Regions from separate parts of the Homo sapiens genome. Here all the other regions are linked to region 3. The links are contacts of gene promoters, found by promoter capture Hi-C in blood cells and fetal thymus (Javierre and others, 2016). All regions are on one chromosome and are shown on one strand. The core of a region is centred on a gene start or on the middle of the fragment in contact, and the rest is flanking DNA. Distances in the headings are between cores, read along the strand shown.

Evidence for each region. The method cuts DNA at HindIII sites, captures the fragments that hold promoters and counts their contacts. A CHiCAGO score of 5 or more calls a contact.
Region 1: a fragment that was not itself captured here is called in contact with the fragment with the promoter of ZNF284 in region 3 in 1 of 17 cell types (total CD4 T cells); the score reaches 8.5 in total CD4 T cells.
Region 2: the fragment with the promoter of ZNF671 here is called in contact with the fragment with the promoter of ZNF284 in region 3 in 1 of 17 cell types (non-activated CD4 T cells); the score reaches 5.6 in non-activated CD4 T cells.

What each region holds. Positions count from the first base shown.
Region 1 is chr19:57,384,016-57,386,979 of GRCh38, forward strand. No RefSeq gene overlaps it. Among named protein-coding and RNA genes, the nearest start is that of ZNF548, 4.4 kb to the right of the region's middle. The HindIII fragment of the contact is 972 bases long and covers 928-1,899 here.
Region 2 is chr19:57,726,279-57,729,316 of GRCh38, forward strand. ZNF671 (zinc finger protein 671) reads right to left here and starts at 1,346. Exons shown (of 4, transcript NM_024833.3): 1 at 1,113-1,346. The coding sequence starts at 1,250. RefSeq lists enhancers at 1,045-1,545, 1,063-1,502, 1,643-1,692 and a silencer at 1,499-1,724. The HindIII fragment of the contact is 7,103 bases long and covers 1-2,089 here.
Region 3 is chr19:44,070,651-44,073,639 of GRCh38, forward strand. ZNF284 (zinc finger protein 284) reads left to right here and starts at 1,509. Exons shown (of 5, transcript NM_001037813.4): 1 at 1,509-1,641. The HindIII fragment of the contact is 12,821 bases long and covers 1-2,989 here.

The DNA of each region.
Region 1 (2,964 bases), core at 164-2,663, about 13 Mb after region 3:
GACCAGCCTGGCCAACATGGTGAAACCCTATCTCTACTAAAGATACAAAAAATTAGCTGTGCGTGGTGGTGCGTGCCTGTAATCACAGCTACTCGGGAGGCTGAGGCAGGAGAATTGCTTTAACCCGGGAAGAGGGGGTTGCAGTGGGCTGAGATCATGCCATTGCACTCCAGCCTGGGCGACAGGGCAAAAAAAAAAATTAGCCGGGCATGGTGGCGGGCGCCTATAATCTCAGCTATTCAGGAGGCTGAGGCAGAAGAATCGCTTGAAGCCGGGAGGCAGAGGTTGCAGTGAGCTGAGATCGCGCCAATGCACTCCAGCCTGGGTGACAGAGCAAGATTCTGTCTCAAAAAAAAAAAAAGAAAAAAAGAAAAAAGAAGAAGGGTAGCAGAAATTCTGTGAATGAGTTACTAGGTTCAAAAATGAGGATGCTCAATATAATGCATAGGTTCAGAAAAAAATTACGATGAAAAGAATTGTCAAATTTTGTAACTGATACTTGACCTGGTTAAATTTGAATTATTTCTAATTCCCTATGTATATGTGCAGTGAGATAAAAGATAAATATTGTATGTGACATACTCATCATAAAATTATTTGTTGTTTATCTGAAATACATTCTAAATCAGGGGTCCCCAACCCCTGGGGCCACAGATGAGTACTATGGCCTGTTAGGAATGGGGCCATATAGCAGAGGGTGAGTGGCAGATGAGTGAGCATTGCTGCCTGATCTCCGCCTCCTGTCAGATCGGCAGCAGCATTAGATTCTCATAGGGGTGCAAACCCTACTGTGAACTGCACAAGAGAGGGATCTAGGTTGTATGCTCCTTATGAGAATCTAATGCCTCTGAAACCATCTGCCCCCAAACCCCTCTCCCTTATCCATGGAAAAATTGTCTTCCACAAAACCGGTCCCTGGTACTAAAAAGCTTGGGGATCACAGTTCTAATGACATAACTCTTTCCCTGATAATTTGCTTCTACTTAACAATTCCTTGTTTTATATAATTTGCTTACAGAATTCCTGCAGTTACAGTCTTGATGCCATTTATGTTGTGACAAACCTTCGTCATTTGTCATATTCAACTTATTTCATTCCTTTATCTATTGGACATTCATTAATGAGAAACACACTCAACAGTAGCATTCTGAGCCTAAAGACTCATGATGATAAACAGTGTAGAAAACATTACAAACTCTATTATAATTATTCTACCATCTCCATCTGATTTTAACAAAAAAGTTATTTTGTCTCTTTCTTTGGAACTAGTTGAGAAAATCATGCACCTTCCAAAGTTAATATATATTTGACTGTCCACCATTTTCATTAGTCAATGGGCAATTACATAGAGTCGAAGACCTTCAAAGGGAATTTTAAATACTCCTCAGTTCATCATAAATTATAAACTTGCATTTTGACATTTTTTGCATTCAATATACTCAAAATATAGACAATAGCAACTTCTACAAGAGTTGAAAAACATTGTGGGTACAGTGGCTCATGCCTGTAATCGCAGCACTTTGGGAGGCCTAGGCGGACAGATCACTTGAGGTCAGGAGTTCGAGACCAGTATGGCCAACATGGCGAAACCCCATCTCTAATAGAAATACAAAAAATTAGCCAGGCATGGTGCCACGCGCCTGTAATCCCAGCTACTTGGGAGGCTGAGGCATGAGAATCACTTGAACCTGGGAGCCAGAGGTTGCAGTGAGCCGAGATTGCGCCACTGCACTCCAGCTGGGTGACAGAGTGAAACTGTATCTTAAAAAAAAAAAAGAAAAGAAAGAAAAAAGAAAACACTGGAGAAAACGTTGGATTTTACAATGTATGTCTGGGTCAGTTAGTCTACCATTTCATATCCAAACTCATAACTAATTACAAACAGATGGAACCATTGAAAGCTTGCAAACTTTTAAATTATATTCATATAATTAAAATATAAGTAATAATTTATATTCAATTAAGAATAAATGGGGCCAGGCGTGGTGGCTCATGCCTGTAATCCCAGCACTTTGGGAGGCCGAGGCAGGCGGATCATGAGGTCAAGAGATCGAGACCATCCTGGCCAACATGGTGAAATCCCGTCTCTACTAAAAATACAAAAAAATTAACTGGGCGTGGTGGCGTGCATATGTAGTTCCAGCTACTTGAGAGTCTGAGGCAGGAGAATCACTTGAACCGGAGAGGCGGAGGTTGCAGTGAGCCGAGATCACACCACTGCACTCCAGCCCAGCGACAGAGTGAGACTCCGTCTCAAAAAAAAAAAAAAGAATAAATAGATTTTGATATCTCAAGGGAAAAAAAGTGATATTCCTATTTGTCTGCAGGGCAGAGCTGTAGTGGTCAGGCAGTCTCCTCAAACAAAGCCAAAACTGCTATTATATGAGCTTTTAGGAAGGCTGGCCTTCAGGGACTGAGGACTTTCAGAAGCAGCAGAGTTGAAAGACTGATGGACTTTCAGGTATGTTAGTGTAAATGCAACCATTTACCAACTGGCTTTCATAAACAGGATTACTGACAGGAGGCACTTGTGGATTAGTTGTTGCCAGCAGCCTGGGGCTGCCACTGATTGACCATCTTTAGTACTGGGCCTTACCCCCATTGGAAAAATTTTAGAATCTTGGCCTAACAATGATTTGCTAAGTTTCTGGTTAATTACTGGGGTGAAGCTTTTGCTGACTAGCTGACTTTTAAAGCATAGGTACACATCCCAAGTTATCTCTAATTAATGGTGGTTTCTTGTTTATGATTATGGATTTGGGGCAGAGATAAATTTTTTCCTTACTTGAACATAAGCCAGCAACTTAATTCTCATTCCCCATTTTTGGTTTCCCAACAGCCAGAATTTGTAAGAAATCATATGCTATGGTTTGGATGTTTGTCTCTTCCAAAGCTCATGTTGAAATTTAATTTCCAATGTTTGAGGTGGGGCCTAATAGGAGGTGTTCTGGTCATGAGGGTAGA
Region 2 (3,038 bases), core at 96-2,595, about 14 Mb after region 3:
CCACCCTGGGCGACAGAGTGAGACTTCGTCTCAAAAAAAATAAAAAAAATAAATAAACTAAAACTAAAAGAAAACACACAAAATGAGGGTGAGATAATCAGATAGTAGCAATAGCACACCACCCATCGTTGCCATCCCAGGCCAAACTCCTCATACCCTACAGCTCTCTCCTCCTGCAAACACTGAAAAGAACCCTTTCAAATGGCAGGACCCTTCTCTTCTGGGGGGAGTCTCAAGAATGCCCACTCCCTCTTCCCTGCCCTGCAGTCCCAGCCTTCTCATCTCTTACCCCAGAGATATGAAATAACATACTTAAGACTGCCCCACTTAAATCTGACCTCCTGGCCTTGACCTACTCCAGACCGCTCCCTTCACCCCAAAGATATTCTAAGCCCAGCCCCTTCCCCACAACTTCAGACCTTCCTCTCTAGTTGCCTAAGTGAGGAAGCCTCCACTCTGAGACATCTCAAAGTCACCATTCCAAAATCCAAACGTTCATGGAAAAACAACAAAAACACCTTGCTCTTTCATGCCTTACTTTCAGTCATAGCTGCATATGATGGAGCAGAAAATCCTGTTGGTTTCAAATTTAAAACCTACCCAGAATATGATCACTTCTACCCACTCACCTGCCATTACTCTTGGTACATCCACCACCAAAGCATTCCTGGAATCCACTGCAGTAGCCTCCTTACCGGTCTCCTCGTATCCATCCTCGCAGTCCCCACCCCAAACTAATGTTCTCCCCTGAGCAAATTTCGAGACACTTAAAATCCCAGCTAAGATCACGTCCTTCTATTCAAAACCCTCAGTTAATCTCAACGCCCTCAGAATGAAGCGACAACTTCTCAGCCTGCCATTCCAGTCACAGTTCCTCAAACTCTGCTCTGTGTTGATGAGAACCCTGTCTCCCAAATGTTTGGGGGTCAGCAGCACCCCCGAGCCTTTACCTGCGCCGTCCCCTCCGCCCGTAACTCTCCCACACCCACCCACACCGAGATAGGACCCCGCCCCAAGAGTGCGTCGCTGTCCTGGGACACAGGGGCTGCAGGCACTTTACGATTCGGAGTCGGAGAAAGGGTGACTGAGGGCCCGGAGGACGCAGCACCCACCCGCGCGGAGTCCGTTAGCTCCGCCATAGGACCGTGGGCGCGGACAGCTGCCGGGAGCGGCAGGCGTCTCGATCGGGGACGCAGGCACTTCCGTCCCTGCAGAGCATCAGACGCGTCTCGGGACACTGGGGACAACATCTCCTCCGCGCTTTCCCAACACCTCCACCTGCGGCCCACACAAGCGTTACAGAACCCCGGCCAGGGACAGCCTGACAGAAACAAAATGTCCGCTACAAGGAGGAGCCGGAAGTCCCGCCCACGCACCCCCCGCAGGCACTGAAACACCCCTCTCCTGGGCCCTCATTGGGTATGCAACGTATAGGTTTGTGGGTAGAGTGTGGTTCCCACTGAGCTATCCTTCAAGGCAGGGGATTCTCGGCCTGGGCTCTTGGGAAAACTCGAAGTAGGAGGGCCAAGTTGTTTGGGAAAAGTAACCCGAGTTTCAAAGGGCTGACAGGACTTCCGTCCTCTTTTTTTTTTTTTTTTTTTTTTTTGAGACAGAGTCTCGCTCTGTCTCCCAGGCTGCAGTGCAGTGGCGCGATCTCGGCTGACTGCAACCTCCGCCTCCCGGGTTCAAGCGATTCTCCTGCCTCAGCCTCCCAAGTAATTGGGACTACAGGGGCCCGCCACCACGCCAGGCTAATTTTAGTACTTTTAGCAGAGTACGGGATTTCACCATGTTGGCCAGGCTGGTCTCGAACTCCTGACTTTGTGATTTGCCTGCTTCGGCCTCCCAAAGTGCTGGGATTACAGGAGTGAGCCATGGTGCCCGGCTGACTTCTGTCCTCTTAAAAGGCCTGGACCTAGATTCCCTGGAGTGTAGTATGCACCGATCGCAGAAATGTTGAGACATTTCAGATGTTCCCCAAAGCTGCAAAACTAAATAGATACACCACACCACAATGTCTCTTTGCGTACACTCACAGCTAGAAGCTAATAACTATTACCTTGTTGCTTTTTAAATATGTGTGCACTCAAGCTTTACAGTAACTTTTGTGAGCTTCAGTTTGGTCAGAGACGGAAGAGAAAATATTCCAAACAAGGCCTTGGAGTGGAAGAAGGAAGAGGGATGATGTGGAGTCTCCCTGAAACCAGTGGACAGATTTCTTCAGAAAACTCTTCCTGCCTGGGTAATCAGTGATGTCTCCATCACAGCAAAACACAGTGCAATTACCATTTAACCTGTCATTGTCATTGTAAGTATGGTGTCTGTGTTAGGAGGTGAGATTATCCCCGGGGGAAAAATCCTGACAGCTATTAATAATGATTCCGTAGTTATTTGAAGATAATGAAAGAAATTGCTCTAAGGAAATATCTGTGATAGATGGACAAAGTTAAGATCTCAGTAAAGTTTGAGCCTGAATACTAAAGTATAAGTGAAAGAATGAAGTTAAGCATATGGTTGTGTTGTGATCTTGACCACACTTTGTCAACAAAATGTGACTCTTTTTTCCTGAAAATGCTGAGCAATTGTAAAGAAGATATCAGAATGGTAAAAATCAACAGTGAAGTTGTGCTGTCTTGATAATTCACTGTTAAAATACACATCCAAGGAACACATACGAGCTCTCAGTAGGTGTTTTTCAAATGTGTTAGTAGCATGAAAGACATCACTAATAAAATTTCCAAGATTCCTATACATACAGGACATGTCCTGCATATAATGATTTTTGTCCTGCATCACCTTTTGACTTTGTCACAATACCCTAAATAAATATTCTAAAGAAGGCAACAGTCTTAAAGAAAAGAATTTTCAACCCGGAATTTCATATCCAGCCAAACTAAGCTTCATAAGTGAAGGAGAAATAAAATACTTTACAGACAAGCAAATGCTGAGAGATTTTGTCACCACCAGGCCTGCCCTAAAAGAGCTCCTGAAGGAAGCACTAAACATGGAAAGGAACAACTGGTACCAGCCACTGCAAA
Region 3 (2,989 bases), core at 259-2,758:
AAATCTACACATACTGATACGGTTTGGCTGTGTCTCCACCCAAATCTCATCTTGAATTATAGCTCCCATAATTCCCACATATCATGAAAGGGACCTAGTAGGAGGTAATTGAATCATGGGAGTGGGTCTTTCCCATGCTGTTCTCGTGATAGCAAGGACAGATAGAGGAGTGACTTTGAATAGAATGGGAGGCAGGTTTGCCCTAAGCGATTTCCAGCTTGAGATTTCCTTAGTGATTTTGGGGGCCCAAGATATTTTCCTTTCACAATACTAAGCAGTTTAATTTCTCTTAAATGTGGCATTTCCACGTCTAAAGAATATTAATATGAAAACTTTAAAAGTGGGAAGATAGCTTTTCCAGGAGGGCAATTGGCCCTCCATATTGGCCCTTGACAGGGCAGGAGCATCGCCATCTTGGACAAACACTGCCATTTTAAAGTTCGCGTTGATCAAAAACTGCCTAAATCCAAAGGGCATCAGCCTAATGGCTAAGGTCAGCATGACCATAAACCACAAATGACATCTCCAATCAGAAACATTCCAACCATAAGATAAACCCCTCCCTGACCAGAGACATGCCAGCACCGAGATAACCTCCCTTCCATTGGAGAGATGTCAGTCCCAAGATAACTTCCCCTCCAACCAGAGATATTCCAACCCCACAACAGACTTCTCCCCAATACAGAAACATTCTAAGCCTGTGGTAAGCTCTCTCTCCCTAAAGCCAATACATACTCTTAGTCCGTAAGAGAGAGCGCTCCTGACTGCAATCGGCCAGAAGGCCCTCTCGGTTTATTCTCCAAAACGAACCTGTCTTTGACTGTTGAGCCGCTTTTCGTGTTTTTTTTTTTTTTCTCTTTAACTCTTACAGCCCTCTTAAACACTTAAACTGTGGTTGTTTTTCTTGCCAAACCAGTGGTACAACAGTGTCTGGTTGTACCAGGGGCTGGTGCCCCACTCAATGCCTCTCCCAAACCATTTTTCCTGGCCCATTATTTAAGCTCTTAGATTTAGCCTCATACTATTAGCGTCTAGTATATTAGCCTTTCAGCCATCTCCTGACCGCTCCACAGTCACTCCCCGCTAACTCCTTGAAGATTGTATCTCCTTGCTTTGTTCTCTTTCAGTAACACTCCTGTCATCATGGGAGGCGTGTAGACTTCAGGAATTCCTGTCTATTCAATATTTTCTCTCGAGGACGCAGGGAGAGGGAAGGACCACTCTCAGGGCCACAGTCCATATTCCAAACCAGGCGCTTGGGTCTATGGGATTCATTCCTCGTGGGCATTGCAGGAAGTGTAGTCAAAGAGCACCGCGGAGTCCCACGCTTCCCGCCGGAAGGTGATACTATAGAACGTCTCCTTTGAGATTCAAGGAAGTGTAGCGCAGGAGATCTGTTGAATGACGAGCAAGTAGGCTCAGGACGGCGTATCCGGGGAATTCTGGGAAATGTAGTTCACACGCTGCGCGGGGTAGGGGCACTTCCGCTCCCGGGGGGCGAGGTTGCTGCAGTGCATTCGGTGGTAGTTTGGTGTCAGTCCTGTGTCTTGTCGGTCCTTCTAAACGTGTCCCCTTACGATGCTGGCTCGCAACCACCTGGAAGTTGACTAAGGGGAGAAGGAGTCTCGTTGGAAAACGGAGGTTTGGAGGGACAACGGCCTCTCTTTTCGTTCTTGTCAGCGGAGCCTTCTTGGTCTTGGGGCTGTCCTCGCGTCCCCGGGCATGAGGCTGGGGGTTGGGACTTGGTCGGGACGCGTCTCGCCTGGTTTGAGGGTTTTTGGGGCTCTCAGCTCGCTCAGTCCGCCTCCCTCCATCCCACCTGTGAGGCTACTTTCTCACAATTTAGGGTTGGGATGTTATTAATCTCCCTGTACCTCCCACTGCTGTTCTTTAAAATGGGGACTTTAGGACCATCCTAATGAAATCGTTTTGGGAACTGGAAGAGGTAACACAAATGAAAGCCTTAAAGCAGCCCCTCCCTTAGTGACTGGTGGTCTCTTCTTAGTGTTTATTTCCCACGAAGCCTGTCAGGTCCCCGGGTGGGGTCAGAGCTCCATCTGCAGGGATCCCCGCCCTTGTCTCTGATTCCTGCAGGACGCTGGGTGATCCCGGACGCTTCTGACCTCTTTTTAGGAAGGCGAGGGTTGTTTCCATTTCCACGAAGGGAGAGGAACATTTAACTTTTATGCCGGACGGCAATGCGGTCAGGGTGTTTCACAGCTTTCTCCTTCCCCAGCCTGATTCTCAAAAAGAGCTGCAGGGAGGGACTTCTTGGCTACTGAGGGCAAAGTTCCACGAGAGTGGTCCTTGGCTTTTTTTCTTTTACAGAGATGCTCACCCCGACCAAGAGTGTAGGATGTGTCCTCAGGCATGGGTGTTGATAATAATTAAGCCTCAATTGGTAACTTTATCCCAAGAGCTTTATACAAGTAGTCACATTTTCGCCACACCGTGGCTCTGTGGAGAGGTACTACTTTTTTCAGTTTTAAAGATGAGTGAGATACAAAGGAGCAGGAGTTATCTGAGAATAGTCACCTAAGCAGTAAGAGGTGGAGCTGCGGTTGAAACCTGGGCGTTACAGGTCAGAGCCTTAGTTGATAATCTTTTGGATACATTCTCATTGAGGCAGAGGAACTAGCTGGAATCTAGTGGGGAAAGCAAGCTAGGACTTGATTGAAGGGAGCCTTGAGAGCAAGGCTTATGGGCTTGGACTGTTCTGGGAGTTTATCAACTATTTCATTCATTAGAACTATTTCATTTATTACAAATATTTCACTTGTTATGCAGCGGTATGATTGTGGAGCGTTCAGAAATTGGAGAAATACGAGTAGTACAAGTTTATAATTACCCATGAATCCAGCATGTAAAGATAGTAACTGTTAAACTTCGAGTGCATTTTTTTTTTTTTTTTGAGACAGAGTCTCACTGTGTTGCCCAGGCTGGAGTGCAGTGGCACGATCTCGGCTCACTGCTAACTCCGCCTCCCAGG